Regions from separate parts of the Homo sapiens genome. Here region 2 is linked to region 1. The links are contacts of gene promoters, found by promoter capture Hi-C in human tissues and cell types (Jung and others, 2019). All regions are on one chromosome and are shown on one strand. Each heading gives the region's core, a stretch centred on a gene start or on the middle of the fragment in contact. The rest is flanking DNA. Distances are from core to core; before and after follow the strand shown.

Region 1 (4,586 bases), core at 744-3,243:
TGTCCCCCAGGTTGGGGTGCAGTGGCATGATCTTGGCTCACCACAACCTCTGCCTCCTGGGTTCAAGCAATTTTCTGCCTCCGCCTCCTGAGTAGCTGGGATTACAGGCGCCCACCATCACGCCTGGCTAATTTTTGTATTTTTAGTAGAGATGGGGGTTTCACCATCTTGGCCAGGCTGGTCTTGAACTCCTGACATCGTGATCTGCCCACCTCGGGCTCCCAAAGTGCTGGAATTACAGGCGTGAGCTACCATACCCGGCCCGTCCTTAAGTTTTGGCAATTATGAATAATGCAGCTATAAACATACTTGTGCAGGTTTTTGTGTGAACATAGTTTTCAACTCCTTTAGGTAAATATCAAGGAGTGTAATTGCTGAATTGTATGGTAATAATATATTTCTTTTTTTTTTTTTGAGACAGAGTTTCCATCTTGTTGCCCAAGCTAGAGTGCAATGGTGCGATCTCAGCTCACTGCAACCTCCGCCTCCTGAGTTCAAGCGATTCTCCTGCCTCAGCCTCCCAAGTAGCTGGGATTACAGGCGCGTGCCACCACGTCTGGGTAATTTTTTGTATTTTTAGTAGAGACGGGGTTTCACCATGTTGGCCAGGCTGGTCTCAAACTCCTGACCTCATGATCCGCCCACCTCGGCCTCCCAAAGTGCTGGGATTACAGGCGTGAGCCACTGCGCCCGGCCGGTAATAGTATATTTCATTGTGTAAAAAACAAAACAAAAAAACAAATTGGGCAGGGCATGGTGGCTCATGCCTATAATCCCAGTACTTTGGGAGGCCTAGGCAGGCAAATCACTTGAGGTCAGGAGTTCAAGGCCAACAGGCAAAAACCCCGTCAAAAAAATTAGTCTGGCATGATGTCAAGCACTCGTAGGCCCAGCTACTCGGGAGGCTGATGCAGGAGAATCGCTTGAACCCTGCAACAGAGTGAGACTCTCTCTCAAACAAAATAAAACAAAACGGAAAAACTATTAGAGGCTGGGAGCGGTGGCTCACGCCTGTAATCTCAACACAGAGGCGGAGGCGGGCGGATCACGAAGTCAAGAGTTCGAGACCAGCCTGGCCAACATAGTGAAACCCCGTACTCTACTAAAAATACAAAAAATAAGCCGGGCATGGTGGCGTGCGCCAGTAATCCCAGCTACTCGGGAGGCTGAGGCAGGAGAATCGCTTGAACCCGGGTGGCGGAGGTTGCGGTGAGCAGCGATCGCGCCATTGCACTCCAGCCTGGGCGACAGAGCAAGACTCCGTCTCAAAAAACAAACAAACAAACAAAAAGCAAAAAAACTATTAGAGCCTGGGCAACATAGTGAAATCTTGTCTCTACCCCCCACCCCCAAAAAAATTAGCCTGGGTGCGGTGGGATGCACCTGTAGTCCCAGCTACTTGGGATACTGAAGTGGGAGGATTGCTTGAGCCTGGGAGGTCGAGGCTGCAGTGAACTGTGTTCACGCCACCGCACTCCAGCCTGTGCGACAGAGCGAGACTCTGTCAAAACCAAACCAAACCAAAACAAAAAAAACCTATGATCCGGTTTCTTGAAGCAGATCCTATGGCAAGCCATCAAGCCAGAGCGGTAAGAAGTAGGAAGATGGTGCTTTTAGATCCACTACATTCCCAGGATCAAATGTAGAACAATATTTAGTCCCTAAAGTGATTCTCTTTCCATTATTGTCAACTGCGTGGTCGGTGCAACGTGAAAGGGCCACAACTATGTGAAGGAAACACTTAGAATATAACACCAAAGGAGGCAATCGCTGCCTTAGACTTCCTAAAGATCTAAAGAACTCTTAGATGCTTGGTGAAATCGCTCTCTGCCGCTGGTGCGACTCAGGCGCGGTCGCGAGGAAGGTCCAGGGTGAACGCGCGTAGGCTGGGAGTCCGCGTTGGGGCGCTCCCTGGCTTGCAGGCCGCTCCGAGTGGGTGGGCCGGGGGCGGGGCCGGCGGCAGGGAGCGGACTCCGCCCCCGGGGCGGGTCCAGTCGGGCCGCGGCGCGTCGCTGCGCCGCACGTGTGCGAGCCCGGCCGCCGGTGAGTCGGCTGGAGCGCATCTGGTCCTCCGCGCGGAAAGCGCTGCTTTTGCCTGGCCGCCCTAGCCGCTGGCTCATCCAAGTGGCCTTCGCCGCTCTCTTGCGTCCCAACCAGAGCGCTGGCCACCTCGCCGCCCAGCTCACGCCGCGCCCGCGCTCCCAGGCTCCGGGTAAGTGCGCGGCCTCCCCGCGGCCGCCGGGGCTCCTCGGCCTGGCCCTGGCCCCAGCCCCAGCCCCAGGGCCCCGCCCCAAGAGGCAGTGCGGACTGGGAAGGCGGACTGGGAAGGCGGCCCCGCAGTGGTCAGAGCCCGCGGCGCCTCCATTATGGATCGTGCCAGCGGGAGCACGGTTGGAACCCAGTGGGTCCTGCGCTTCGGCGGTGCAGGCGCCGCTCTCCGCTCCCCGCTCCCCGCTCCGCTCTGCCCGGCCAGTCGTCCGGAGGCGCCGCGCCCGAGCGCTCCCCTCCTCCCCGCGCGGCGCTGTCCCCCGGGGGCCCCCTTCCCACTCCTCCCTTTCTTTGCCCCGGACGCTCCCTAAACTCTTGTCCCTCCGTCAGAGGAACACTGGCCCTGAAGCCCTTCACGGTGCCACTGCTTCGCCGCGCCTGCCTTCTGTGGGTCCAGCCCACGTGTTCCACCCCTGTGTCCTGCGTCGCCGCTCACTGGGAGCCTACTAGGCGCCACGCGGGCTCTGGGGACTGCTTGCTTTGTATGCATTTCCCAGAGTAGGAGTGGACGGGCTGCAGACTCAGAGTGCTTTCTCCAGCCCTCAAGCTGGGTGAATGCTTAACGAGTGGATGGAGGTGCTGCTGTGCAAGCTGAAATTCGAGTCCTCCTCGTCAGCCCTGCGCAGAGGTGTTTAGAAGCACACCTTCGTTGCCTGCCGAGTAGGGTTGGCAAAGAGTTTAGTTTTTAAAATATTTGGTCCCGTCAGACTACTTTTTTTTTCCATTCCAAAAATAAAGGGTTACTAAGGTTCCCTCCCCCCCATCCCCAAGCCTCTAATCATCTATGAAATGACTATGCCCCATTGGCCTGGGGGAGCCTCGACTATTGAGGGATCTGTCGAAAATCAGACTGTACAACACTATTGAAAAGGGGTTGGTTAGGCAATTGTTAGGTTCAAACATTAGGAAAGTAGCCAACAGTACGTACTTAACAACTCCTTGTGAACATGTTTTTGGTTTTTTTATTTTTATTTTTTTAATTTTTTTGAGACAGAATTTTGCTCTTGTTGCCCAGGCTGGAGTGCAGTTGCGTGATCATCGCTCACTGCAGCCTTGAACTCCTGGGCTCAAGCAATCCTCTCACCTCAGCCTCCCAAGTAGCTGGGACTATAGGCATGTGCCACCACACAGGGTCTCGCTGTGTTGCCCAGCCTGGCCTCAAACTCCTGACCTTAAGCAATCCTCCTGCTTTGACCTCCCAAAGTGCTGGAATTACAGGCTTGAGCAACCACACTCGGCCTTGAACATATCTTTGTTTTTTGATTTATTTTTTTTAGACGGAGTCTCACTCCATCACCCAGGCTGGAGTGCAATGGCACGATCTTGGCTCACTGCAACCTCAGCCTCCTGGGTTCAAGCGATTCTCCTGCCTCAGCCTCCGGAGTAGCTGGGATTACATGTGCACGCCACCATGCCCAGCTAATTTTTGTATTTTTATTTATTTATTTATTTATTTATTTATTTATTTATTTATTTTGAGACAGTCTCGCTCTGTCGCCCACATGTATTGCAGAGGCAGCACCTCCATCCACTCGTTAAGCATTCACCCAGCTTGAGGGCTGGAGATGTATTGCAGTGGCGCGATCTCGGCTCACTGCAGGCTCCGCCTCCCGGGTTCACGCCATTCTCCTGCCTCAGCCTCCCGAGTAGCTGGGACTACAGGCGCCCGCCACCACGCCCGGCTAATTTTTTATATTTTTAGTAGAGGCGGGGTTTCACTGTGTTAGCCAGGATGGTCTCGATTTCCTGACCTCATGATCTGCCCGCCTCTGCCTCCCAAAGTGCTGGGATTACAGGCGTGAGCCACCGCGCCCCGCCTAATTTTTGTATTTTTAGTAGAGACGGGGTTTCACCATGTTGGCCAGGCTGGTCTTGAACTTCAGACTTCAGGTGATCCACCCGCCTCAGCCTTCCGAAGTGCTGGGATTACAGGCGTGTGCCATCACACCCGGCCTTGAACGTGTCTTTTGATAGAGGCAGGGGCATGCATGTACTGTATTAATGAAGCAGCGTTTTTCCTTACCTAGGAGAGAGAGAGAACAATCCAGCTGGTCATACTGTCGACTAAGTTTGCTCCGGTTTCAGGTCCTTTACACGTGCTGTTCGGGCTGCCTGGAGCTCTCCTCACACACATCTTTTCCTGTCTGGTTCTTCCTTGTCTTTGCTCAGAAGTCTCCTCCTTAGACGAGGCATCACTGAAGAACACCCCTCTTACTCTCAGCCCCTTACCCTGTTTTAATTCTTTGGAGCTCGCATGTCCTGAGATTTATTTTGTTCTCAGATATATTCTCAAATACATTGTAAGCTACATGAGGACA
Region 2 (4,586 bases), core at 826-3,325, 620 kb after region 1:
TATTTGTTTTTATTTTTATTTACTTTTGAGATGGAGTCTCACTCTGTCACCCAGGCCAGAGTGCAGTGGCATGATCTTGGTTCACTGCAACCTCTGCCTCCCAGGTTCAAGCGATTCTCCTGCCTCAGCCTCCCCAGTAGCTGGGATTACAGTCATGTGCCACCACACCTGGCTGATTTTTGTGTTTTTAGTAGAGACAGGGTTTTGCCATGTTGGCCAGGCTGGTCTTGAACTCCTGACCTCAAGTGATCCACCTGCCTCGGCCTCCCAAAGTGTTGGGATTATAGGCATGAGCCACTGTGCCCAGCCGAGGTTTTGCGTCACAGAGCCCTTTAAAACACAAGATAAGATATGGTTTCTGAATGTGTGCTAGAAAATCCTCTGGATCATTCTGTTGTTGTTTTTGGTATGTTCCCCCTTGTTTTTCAACACACTTAAAAAAATCGTATCCACATTATGATCTTAATGAACTTCTCTCAGCAAGAGAACTCACGGTTACTTTAATATACCCAGACTACACAGAGGATAATTGAAATATGATCATGTCATAATGATGATTAGTCTATAATGATTATCTGAGATTGAGTCATGCTGGCAGAAGCCCTACGGAAAGGAATACTTTCTTTAGATATTATTAAAAGCAAAACAATCAACCACTGTGGAAAGCAGTTTGGAAATTTCTCCAACAACTTAAAACAGAACTATCATTCAACCCAGCAATCCCATTAGTGGCTATATGCCCAAAGGAAAATAAATCCTTCTACCAAAAAGACACATGCACTCATATGTTCGTTGCAGCACTATTAACAATAGGAAAGACATGGGATCCACCTAGGGGCCCATTAGTAGTGGACTGGATAAAGAAAATGTGGTACATATACACCATGGAATACTATGTGGCCATAAAAAATTGGCTGGGCATTGTGGCTCATGCCTGCAATCCCAGCACTTTGGGAGGCCAAGGTGGGCAGATCACTTGAGGTCAGGAGTTCGAGACCAGCCTGGTCAATATGGCGAAAACCCATCTCTACTAAAAATACAAAAATTAGCTAGGCATGGTGGCAGGCACCTGTAGTCTCAAGCTACTTGGGAGGCTGAGGCAGGAGAACCACTTGAACCCGGGAGGCAGAGGTTGCAGTGAGCTGAGATCACACCACTGCACTCCAGCCTGGGTGACAGAGCAAGACGCTGTCTCAAAAAAAAAAAAAAAAAAAAGTATAACTAGAAGGATGAATAGGGAGACCACAGAGGGCCATCTATGTGTGTGTGGGGCAGGGGAAAACGGGGTCAGGAGGGTAGTCCTCATTTTCTTGAGGTTCTCAAGTAAGTACACTCCTAATTTCATAATAGAAAAGCCTGCTTTGGTGTGAATCATTTGTTGGCATCCATGAACCAGAGACTCCCTGTTTCTCTCTCCTTGGTGCTAAGCTGCCTGGTTTGACTTTATGACATCACAGGATGAAGGAAAAGTAAGATTGCCAAGAAGGAAGTACATGTATCTAAGGCTGCATCCCAGTCAGGGTAAGACCTGTTCTCAGTGGGCTGGGAAGGGAGCAGTGAGTGTTGGAAGGACTTTAGATCAGACCCCAGGGTAGTGACACCCATACCTGCGGGAGGTAGAGGGGAGAAGGAAGCCTCCGGCAGGGCAGATGTCTCCCTGGGAAGATCCTCAGCTCTCTTACAGGAAGGTTCCGGGAACATTTGCGGCCAGTTTCACAAAACTTTCTCTTTCTCCTTCATCATCTGGGCCCACAGCCTGGGGCCTGACCCTAACAGGTCATTCATCAACAACCCTTCTTGAATCTGCTCTGGTCTTGGGTCACCCGTGGCCTTCATATGGCCAAATCCCTCATTAGATCCCTCGCTGTAACTTCACTCTTTTTGTTTTTCTTGAGACAGAATCTCACTCTGTTGCCCATGCTGGAGTGCAGTGGCGTGATCTCGGCTCACTGTAACCTCCGCCTCCCTGGTTCAAGCGATTCTCCTGCCTAAGCTTCCCGAGTAGCTGTGATTACAGGTATGCGCCACCATGCCCAGCTAATTTTTTATTTTTAGTACAGATGGGGTTTCACCATGTTGGCCAGGCTGGTCTCGAACTCCTGAGCTCAGGTGATCCACCCACCTCGGCCTCCCAAAGTGCTGGGATTATAGGAGTGAGCCACCGCACCCGGCCTAATCTCACTATTGATTAGTCAGTCCTTCATTCCTAAAGCTCTCTTCTTCTTCTCCCTCCTCCCCCTCCTCCTCCTCCTCCTTCTCCTCTCCCTCCTCCTCTTCCTCCTCTTCTTTTTGAGACAGGGTCTTGCTCTGTGACTCAGGCTTCTTGACTACAGCGGCACAATCATAGCTCACTGTGGCCTCTACCACCTCCAGGCTCAAATGATCCTCCCACCTCAGCCTCCCACATAACTAGGACCACAGGCACGCGTTACCATGCCCAGCTAATTTAAAATTTTTTTTTATAGAGATGGGGTCTCATTATGTTTCCCAGGCTGGTTTCAAACTCCCGGACTCAAGTGATCCTCCCACCTTGGTCTCCTGAAGTATTGGGATTACAGGCATGAGCCACTGCACCTGGCCATTAAAGGTTTCTTCTTTGTTGAGTATTGTCAACTCTGGGACTGTACTTCTGACCCACAGTATCTGTGGTGGGCAGGGAGCTGAGAAGTAAGTGGGAAAATGAAAGTGTGAAGCCAGTGAGCCAGGCCTGGAATAGGGTGAGGCAAGTGAGTGTCTAGGGTATAAAATTTAAGGAGCTCACTTGCAGGGTCATGCAAGTGTGAGGTGAGTGCTTCTTTAAAACTTGCAGGGCCAGTCGTGGTGGCTCATGCTTGTAATCCCAGCACTTCGGGAGGCTAAGGTGGCAGGATTGCTTGACCCAGGAGTTCAAGACCAGCCTGGGCAACATAAGGAGATGCTGTGTCTACAGAAAATAAAAAAAAATTAGCCAGGTGTGATGGTGCACACCAGTGGTCCCAGCTATGTGGGAGGTTTAGGTGGGAGGATCGTTTGAGACCAGGAGGTCGAGGCTGCAGTGAGCCATGAACGCACCACTGCACTCCAGACTGGATGACAGAGCAAGACTGTCTCAAAAAACAAGCAAACAAACAAAAAAACAAAAAAGCTTGCCCCCTAGGTACCTAGCTTGCCTCACCCTAATCCCAGCCTTGCCCATGAGTGCATGCTGCTCATCAGAAGGCGTGCTGGGAATGTTTGCTTGGATTTGAGTTACTTAGACACTGCGACCAGAGCATATTTTTTCTTCCTACTGCATGACACCACCACGCAACAGAAACCCCAGGGCATGCAGAAGTTCTGCAGACTCTTAGGCTGAATAATAATAACCAGCTGTGATCAGAACACAACCACTCCCCACAGAATATCAGGAAAACACTTTGTTGGGGGAGTAAAATTAGAATGTTATTACAACTACTTAGATAGTATGCACATGAAGAGTTTTCCACCTGAAGGCTTGGCAAGGACTAGCTCTTCAAACAGATTTGTAAAGAGAGTAAGTGGAAGGAAATAAAAGTCAGAATTTTCCTCTCCAGATGTGGCCATCACTCCTTCAGTCTTAAGACCGTGAGACACGAGGACAATTTGCAGAATTTGGTGGAAGCATCAGTGTGGTGTAATTGCCACCTTGTGAAACATTCTGCTCTTTTAAAAACTTGGCTAACATTTCCCATGCACCATGGATGTTGCCTATCAGGGGAGGTAATTTAAAATATGTCACATTCTCCCAGGTTTGTACAGAGCAGGAATGAATAAATAAGTCATTCAATGCTGCTTTGGATCTTTGTTCAGTCAGATTTGTCCTTGTAACATGTCATGGGCTCGGAGTTGCCCATGTTACATTTCCAAAGGGCTCTTTGCAAATCCTTTTCAAAGCTGTCATTTGAATCACTGCTCATGAGTGCAGCATTTATAATGGCCCTATTGTCCAGGCTATCTAAATGCTACTTGGCTGAATTTTCCACGTGTTTACAGATGTTGAAATGTCTCCTGTGGTTGGTTTCTGCTCATTGTTCCTGTCTGACCTTTTTAATTAGGGTCTGGAGCCCCCACAGTCAGGAGAGCTGACTCCTCCTGTCTCCCTTTGGATCTGACATACCGATTTCAACACAGGAGACGATGGAGGATAATTACTAAAATTATTCTAGCTACTTATGCAGATCTTCGGTGAGAAGGGGCAGAAAATGGCCTAAGAGTCAGGCCTTGATAATTCTGTGCTATTTCTGTATGCAGTGGACAATGAGACTTTGACACAAGGCACAACACTTTCTCATGTGTTTTTTTCTTTGGAAAGTAAGTATTTCACAAGAAGGGATTTCAATTAACTCATGAACGTCTCTTTCTCTTCTTCCACTCATTCCCCTTAAGGAACACTGTGAAATATATTAAAAGCAAGAAAACAGGCACAATTACTTGGCAGGCCTTACCCAGGCACATTGAAAATAGAATGTTGCTGCTGATTTATAAATCCTAATAATATTAACTGTCCAGTTTTGGCATGAAGCCATTCCATATTTTACATAGGTTGAAAGGCTTTTACTATTGAAGCCCAGAAGACAGGTCCATGGCAG

Evidence for each region. The method cuts DNA at HindIII sites, captures the fragments that hold promoters and counts their contacts. A contact is called where the count stands out against the background at its distance.
Region 2: a contact is called between a fragment that was not itself captured here and the fragment with the promoter of PUS7 in region 1, in 1 of the 25 tissues and cell types used here (dorsolateral prefrontal cortex).

Annotation. Positions count from the first base shown.
Region 1 is chr7:105,519,678-105,524,263 of GRCh38, reverse strand. PUS7 (pseudouridine synthase 7) reads left to right here and starts at 1,993. Exons shown (of 16, transcript NM_019042.5): 1 at 1,993-2,212. RefSeq lists enhancers at 728-1,228, 2,512-3,166, 3,481-4,098 and silencers at 1,865-2,614, 2,824-2,969. The HindIII fragment of the contact is 7,221 bases long and covers 1,644-4,586 here.
Region 2 is chr7:104,900,092-104,904,677 of GRCh38, reverse strand. The region is part of intron 2 of LHFPL3 (LHFPL tetraspan subfamily member 3); the gene reads right to left. All of the region lies in intron 3 of LHFPL3-AS2 (LHFPL3 antisense RNA 2), which reads left to right. Among named protein-coding and RNA genes, the nearest start is that of LHFPL3-AS2, 24 kb to the left of the region's middle. The HindIII fragment of the contact is 4,084 bases long and covers 34-4,117 here.